Regions from separate parts of the Homo sapiens genome. Here region 1 is linked to region 2. Evidence: promoter capture Hi-C in human tissues and cell types (Jung and others, 2019). All regions are on one chromosome and are shown on one strand. Each heading gives the region's core, a stretch centred on a gene start or on the middle of the fragment in contact. The rest is flanking DNA. Distances are from core to core; before and after follow the strand shown.

Region 1 (4,059 bases), core at 1,358-3,857, 46 kb after region 2:
ACAAGACCAACCCCTCTTCTTCTACCTCCTCCTCAGCCCACTCAACATGAAGACAACAAGCATAAAGACTTTTATGATGAGCCACTTCCACTTAATAAATAGTAGATATATTTTCTCTTTCTTATGGTTTTCTCAATAATACTTCCCTTTCTCTAGTTTACTTTATTGTAGGAATACAGCATATGATACATATAACATACAAAATGTGTGTTACTGATTGTTTATGTTATTGATAAGGCTTCTGATCAACAGTAGGCTATTAGTACTTAAGTTTTAGGGGAGTTAAAAATTATATGTGGATTTTTTACTGTGAGGGGTTTGGTACCCCAACCCCCACATTGTTCTAGGGTCAACTGTAATAGGAGATTTTAGAATCTTTACCTAAAAGAATAGATCATTTCTTTAATAGAGAATTTAAACATAACCATATGTCCTCTTATATTGTTTGTTAGAGATTTTTATTTCCAAACCTTTCTTGAAATACTTTTTAATTGACTAGTTCTGTCATTAATAGGTACGTGTTTATGAATAAGATTAGAAAGATACATAAAACATCACTGGAAAATGTTGCTGCTAGGTGATCATGTGAAATTTATGAAATACTTTATTAGAAAGCAGTAGAGGTGAACTCTCCCCAGCATGTACCTCCCCAGGAAAGATTAAATGGATAATACTTCTAAGATACTATGGGAGAGTTAATTAAAACTACATGATTCAGCATATAGGATTTGGAGAAGCTGCTTATAAGCAAGCTTCTCCAATAAGCAAGAATGAGAAGATGTGCTCTGTAGGAAAGGTAAGAAAAGTTAAGCATGAAAGATGCTGGGGTAAGTGAGGAACCAAGGCAGCACAGGGTGAGGTGCCAGAAATGCAGTGGTTGAGAGCATGGAACTTCTTCCTTTTCCCTTTTGTTGCCTGAGTTTGTAATCCTAACTCTTCCATTCGCTAACAGCAACTTTTGGGGCTTAACTTCTTGATGCTTCAGCTTCTTTATCTGCAAGTTGGGATAATGATAATACAGTAATATCAATTACCAACCATTTCACTTTCTGCAATTTCAGTTACCTGCTGTCAACCACAATCCAAAAATATTAAATGGAATATTCCAGAAACAAACAATTCATAAGTTTTAAATTGCATGCCATCCTTAGTAGTGTGATGAAATCTCATGCCCTCCTGCTCTGTCCCGCCTAGGACATGAATCATCCATTTGTGCAGTGGCAGCCTAGCCACACTGCACACTATTACCTGCCCATTACTCACTCAGTAGCTACCTGGGTTATCAGATCAACAGATCACAGGAAGAAGAAGAGTGCGTATAGTACAACCAGATATTTTGACAGAGAGTGAAAAAGATCACATTTACATAACTTTTATTATAGTATATTGTTATATTTGTTTATTAATTACCATTGTTATTGTCTCTTTATGCCTACTTTATAAATTAAACATTATCACAGGTATGTATGTATAGAAAAAAATATAGTGTATATAGAGTCCAGTACTATCTGCAGTCTCAGGCATTCACTGGTAGGCTTGGAACACATCCCCCATGGATAAAGGGGCACTACGGTATCTGTTTTACAGGATGACTGCAAAGAGTCAATGAGTAAACATAGGTAAGAGGCTTAAGGCAATCCCTGAAACATAGTAAGTTCCAAGTAGCTCTTAGCTCTTATTAACTACAGGAGGTTCATGCTACTCTAAGATAGAAGGGTTTAAATAATAAAACCTTCCCCATAGGTAAGCCAAATCCCTTCTTCTCTTTCAATTTAAACTCATATTATCTTATTCTGTCATTCATGGCAATAGGGAAAAGTCAGACACTCTTCTCTGCATGATGACCCTTCACACGCTGAAGGCTTTCATGTAATCGGAAACATTTGTGGATGTAGAGCTCTTCAGGGAAAAGTGTGTCCCAATCTAATTTCACAAAGTAATGTCAGGAAGGAAACAATCAATGAGGTTACTCCAAATCAAAGTACTTAGAGAAAGTCTTTTAACTCATCTTTAGTCCAGCAAAACGTGAAGAATCACTGATGTCCAAAAGACATGTAGGGAAGGATGTTTTACTTCTATACTTCTTACTATGTTTTGAGGCTAAAATCAAAGGTTTTGGAAAGTTCCAATGTACTAAATCAGAATAATTTAGAGTCAATTTCTACATTAAGATAACAGAGTATTTATATTGATTCTTGAGTTTTATAACACAAACAGTTTATTCTAATTTTGGTTTAACTTGAAGGCAGTGACATCACCTACATATATTTGGACTCTTACAAAACCTAGCAAGCATTTTACCTATCATAGGTATTCAGTAACATTATTGCTCAATGAGTTCATAGTAGTCAAATTAGAAATTTAGGAACTAACAATAATATCTAAATGTTTATTGGAAATTGCTGCAATTGGTGAACATCAGACAGTAATATAAGCATCCCATATATATATGTAAAACATATATATAACATATATATAACATGTATAACATACATATCATGTATATAACATATACGTTTCTTCAAACAGTGCAAACAAGTAGAAAATAAAATGTAACTTTCATCTTCGTTTATGTTATTTTAGGATAATTTTTAAAGGTAAAAATTTAACTTCTGTTAACTTCTTCTCCAGCTTAAGAGAATATGGTGAAGATTTTCCAAAACAGGACAAAAATCAGGACACATGGTATAATTTTAAAAACTATTTTCTGGTTTGGATGTATATTTTAAGTAGTGTTTTCTAAAATTGTTTTTTAAGCCACACTCAAAAAGCTGATTGTTAGCATTTAATATTAAATGCTAATTAATCCTTTTAAAAAAATAAAGTTATATGAAACTGCTTGCCCATAGTATGGTTATAACTCCTACACGACAAACTTTTTTTTTTTTTTTTAGCACTAATGACCACATTTACTTTAGAGAATTTCTGCTGCCCTGGAAATGTTAGAGTAGGGAAAGCCAAGAACCAAGTGGTGAGTGAAAAATCTGTTAGGTATGACCTAAAACACTGTCAGCTGTGAACTGCTGCTAGTCTCCCCTGGCATGGGAATGAAGAGGCCAGGAAGAAAAGTCAAGTCAAGTATCCATTCCCCTCCCCTCCCCAGCTGCTGAGTAAATACACTTCTAAAGTTGATTCTGGCACCCAAAATTTTTCCAGAACATATCATAGGCAAGATATTTTTCCCATCTTGTCTAGGTATGAACCTGTGCTCTTTGACTTATCTGAGTTACACTAAAACCAAATTATTTTTCAACTGTCTTTATATATATTTAGAAAGCATATTTTTCGTCTTAACTAATGTAGCATAGTTAAGATGAAAAATATGCTTTCTGAATTTTTGGGTATGGGGTATTCACTCCATTCAATTTTTGGGTATGGGATATTCACTCCACAAAAATTTAGGTAACTCTTTCTTTAATATAAAACATCCAGAGAACAAGAGGGAGAGGGAGGGAGGGAGAGAGATAGCTTAGTAAAATTTCAGAACACCAAACACAAAGTCTTAAAAACCAGCAGATATAATACAGCATGTCATCATGTCATCATATGACTATGCCATAATTTATTTAATAGATATCCTAATTTAAGATATTTAGTTCCTGATTTTCTACTATTGTGCAAAGTGATCTTATGATGGTTGTTGTAAATAAAGCTTTATGTATGTTTCTTATTATTTCTTGTAATAAATCATGTAAATTAGATTGCTGTGTCAAAATGTATGCATTTTCATACATTCATATAGGCCTTCATACATATAGCCAAATTGTCTTCTAGAAATCAATTTATACTTACTGTGTATGATCATTCTTATCTCTCAAAAAATTGCAAAACATATTTTAAATTGTTACATATTACTTCATTATTATATATCCAACATCAATCAATGTAACAAGCATTTATATTAGCAATTTCACAAACACTTATGTGGTCAACATTTGTACCAAATTCAGAACATATTTTGTACCATCTTTTAAGTGTATCTTCCCTTAAGTATATGACAATTAATATAGATCTATTTTAGTTTTTATTACTTTCCCTTGTCCTTCTCCTTCTCCTCTT
Region 2 (4,117 bases), core at 625-3,124:
ATCCCCTGTCTGATAAGGGAAAGGGTGTGAGCTAAAGGAGAGTGGAAGAAGGCAAACCAGAATTGGGATCACTGCAATGAGGAGACCCCAGAGGTGGCCCTGAAGGTTCACATGCACACATGATGAAAGAGCCAGACTCTCAACTCCTAACCCCAGGGAACATCAATCACCAGTCTATGGACACTCTGTATGTCTCACCTTCAAACTTTCCCAAAAAGAGTATCTGGGTTATTTAATCAGCCACTATCACATAGAAAACACTCCAGTGGAGTAGAGTAGTGCCAGGCCATCTCTCATGCAGCAGGCCAGTCTATGAGGGGCTGCTTTGGACAGAAACTCATTCCTGGTCATACTATTGTGGCTGGAATCCAGTCATGAGGGGTGTAGTATGGTGGCCACACTTTCACAACCCCTCAGACAGAGATTGAGAGCATCACAGTCCTTCCAAGTTTACTCAGAATGGGGCAGTGTATATAGCTGGCAACATGCTTAGTGTATTCAGGACATAAATTAGAGGTTAATGCTATTATTGCATGTTTCACATACCAACATTTCATATCTCATCTTTCTCCCTTCTTATGTCTGGATACATCTCAACCAATTCACCTTTTAATAATATATATTGTTTTGTCATCTCAGTTTTTTATTTCCTGTTTCTTGCATTTTATTGAGAATGCAAAGCAGATGCTTTCTTACACTTAATTCTGTTTTCTGGTGTAATTTTTCAAGCTATTGCTTACCTTTGCTTCATGAGTTCAGTAGTTTCTTGTTTTGTGTTCAAGAATTCTAAGATTCATGTTTGCTTGCTTCTGTGTTGTCTTCCTTGAATGACTAAAAAGTCCATACAGACTCCGAGTTTATCATACATAAGGTCAATGACTTTCACTTTGTCTCTGTCACCAACTAGCAATTAGAATAACCTCTCATTTCTGAAGCCACTTATTACATATTTGGTGTCTATTTGGAAGAGTTGTCCTGAACTGAAGGAAAACGTATTCCTTTTATAGCCTGCTTGTATAGCTATGAAATGATGCCTGCACATTTAGAAGTAATACGCTTTACTAGTGGTAAGAGGGTCCTCTTTCAATTCTTCCTGAGCAATGGGAGCAGTGACAAAAAGAACCTAGCCATGTAAGAGAAAAAAAAAAACACACAGTGATGTTAATGGGACAAGAACAATTCCTGAAAATATATAAGGCATATGCTCAAAGCATCGGAATTGGCAGAAGAACAATAGCTAAGAGAGGCTGTGTGCAGTGTTTTCTCTGCAGTTTGATTTCTCTAAGTGGGGGAATTCAATGGGCAGTTATGAGAGTGGCCTGCATTGGATGGAAATACTTGAAGGTCTGGGGTTCAGCAATTTTGTGGAATTTCGGAGGAAAGACTTTTCATTATCATTTTTATTTACCCTCACACTTTGGTTGTAGCATCCACCACTAGCTGCCATGAGAACTGGGAAGATAGGGCTTCTGAGGTTCGCTTTGGTACTGCACTCAACAGAGCAGAAACATCATGCAGGACGTGAATGAACAGGGAAGGATTCATCTTTCTTGTTGCTCAAATTTTAGGTTAAAAGAGTGAAGATGTCATTTAAAGAAGATAAGGAAATAAGCTAAGTGCACCTCAGAAAAAGAGGAAATAAACAACATGGTTATGAAATACATATGCCTTTTTGGAATAATCAAATCACCTCAGGAGCAGGAATCCACATTTAAACATTTCCCTACATTCAGATGTGATAGCAAACCAGCAAGCAAAGCATAAACAAATTCTATAGATAGGAAAATGACAAAATCAAAAATGAGCTTGGGAAAATTTGCTTCCAGAGAGAGGGGTTTTCTTGTACCAGACAGTGGTGGAATCAGGAACCCATTCTCTACCTGGAAATTGGTACAGAGATTCAGAGTCTTTGTCCAGGAAGACACTTTGGAGTAGAAGAATGATACCCATCCAACTCACTGTCTTCTTCATGATCATCTATGTGCTTGAGTCCTTGACAATTATTGTGCAGAGCAGCCTAATTGTTGCAGTGCTGGGCAGAGAATGGCTGCAAGTCAGAAGGCTGATGCCTGTGGACATGATTCTCATCAGCCTGGGCATCTCTCGCTTCTGTCTACAGTGGGCATCAATGCTGAACAATTTTTGCTCCTATTTTAATTTGAATTATGTACTTTGCAACTTAACAATCACCTGGGAATTTTTTAATATCCTTACATTCTGGTTAAACAGCTTGCTTACCGTGTTCTACTGCATCAAGGTCTCTTCTTTCACCCATCACATCTTTCTCTGGCTGAGGTGGAGAATTTTGAGGTTGTTTCCCTGGATATTACTGGGTTCTCTGATGATTACTTGTGTAACAATCATCCCTTCAGCTATTGGGAATTACATTCAAATTCAGTTACTCACCATGGAGCATCTACCAAGAAACAGCACTGTAACTGACAAACTTGAAAATTTTCATCAGTATCAGTTCCAGGCTCATACAGTTGCATTGGTTATTCCTTTCATCCTGTTCCTGGCCTCCACCATCTTTCTCATGGCATCACTGACCAAGCAGATACAACATCATAGCACTGGTCACTGCAATCCAAGCATGAAAGCGCGCTTCACTGCCCTGAGGTCCCTTGCCGTCTTATTTATTGTGTTTACCTCTTACTTTCTAACCATACTCATCACCATTATAGGTACTCTATTTGATAAGAGATGTTGGTTATGGGTCTGGGAAGCTTTTGTCTATGCTTTCATCTTAATGCATTCCACTTCACTGATGCTGAGCAGCCCTACGTTGAAAAGGATTCTAAAGGGAAAGTGCTAGGCCTAGAGGTTGCCTGAGGCACAGGATAAAAGACTCCCGAGCAATTGATATAATTAATACCAGAAGAGAGTATTGCTCTTATCAATCAATTCATTGTGAATCACCATAATGCAACCCTCATTCCCTTCCATCTTCGCAGCCATGTATTTGTAAATAATCAACCCTTTCTCTATCCTTTTCCACTGGTTTCCTTTCCCTTTCACAATCCTCAGGTTGGTTCCAACTTGCTCAAGACTGCCCCATCTCTCCTTAGTCCTTGCCAACTCTGGAATTGTACACCTGGTATATTCTACACAAGACAGTCAAAATCATGGTGTCCACACATTACTTTAACCTTCCCATGACTGCCAGTTACTTCACACATGAATATGAATACCATCCCACAGAAACATATTGCTTGTACCCTGAATGATTCCCATACTAAGCCTTCAATTCACTTTTTTAGTCAAGGAGTCTCTCTCTCTCTCTCTCTCCCTCACTCTCTCTCTCCCCCTCTCCATCTCTCTCTCTTTCTCTATCCCCTGGCTGTTTCTGGACTTTTATCTGATGACACAAATGTTCTTATTTGCTTCTCTTCCAAATGCCATGTCTTTATCTCTTTAAAACTCAAGTCAAAATTTAACTCTTTCTTCATTTCCATTAGCCAAAACATTATACTCTTCCCCAGAATAGCAGACACTTTACCCAATCCAGATTCATCCTTAATAATTCCCCAAATATTGACAATTTAATTGTGTCAACTATACAACTATAAATGGTTTCCATTGGCTCAATTCTTGCCTCTCTATTGTATTATAACTTGTATTGTATTATTAACTTGATGGAACATCTCCATGTTGAGACATAGTTGTTTTATTTCCCATATACAACCCAGATATCAGTTAAGAACCACTCTTAGCTCATAACATTTGAGTGGCGTTGGCTTACACTTTCTACACTTTTTTATTCTGTCCAAAGCCCTCCCAAAATGAATAAGAATATAGAAATCACACAGTAATCAGTGAAAAATCACGTATAAAACATACTCATTCTTTAGACGTTCTTTCTGCCTCCCTGTCTGACACGTTTCTCTCATACCTTCTTCCCTTGCAGGACCCCATGCCCTTATCTCCAAGGCATCTCACTCCTCATTTATCTCCTCTTCACCCTCAACTACCAGCAGCTATGTGTCTTGGTAATGTCCAACCACTATGCCTTTGGGTCTCAGCCTCTGTCCACCCCAGATACTTATTAAGGTATTCTTCTTAAAGCCAGTTGCATCTCTTACACCATTCTGGTACCAAGCGTAAATAATGTGATGTT

What was found. The method cuts DNA at HindIII sites, captures the fragments that hold promoters and counts their contacts. A contact is called where the count stands out against the background at its distance.
Region 1: a fragment that was not itself captured here is called in contact with the fragment with the promoter of TAS2R16 in region 2 in 3 of the 25 tissues and cell types used here (aorta, small bowel and stomach).

The regions. Positions count from the first base shown.
Region 1 is chr7:122,948,357-122,952,415 of GRCh38, reverse strand. All of the region lies in intron 2 of LOC105375482 (a long non-coding RNA gene), which reads right to left. Among named protein-coding and RNA genes, the nearest start is that of TAS2R16, 45 kb to the left of the region's middle. The HindIII fragment of the contact is 4,621 bases long and covers 297-4,059 here.
Region 2 is chr7:122,993,457-122,997,573 of GRCh38, reverse strand. TAS2R16 (taste 2 receptor member 16) reads left to right here and starts at 1,874. Exons shown (of 1, transcript NM_016945.3): 1 at 1,874-2,870. The coding sequence starts at 1,940. The coding sequence ends at 2,815. The HindIII fragment of the contact is 11,039 bases long and covers 1-3,483 here.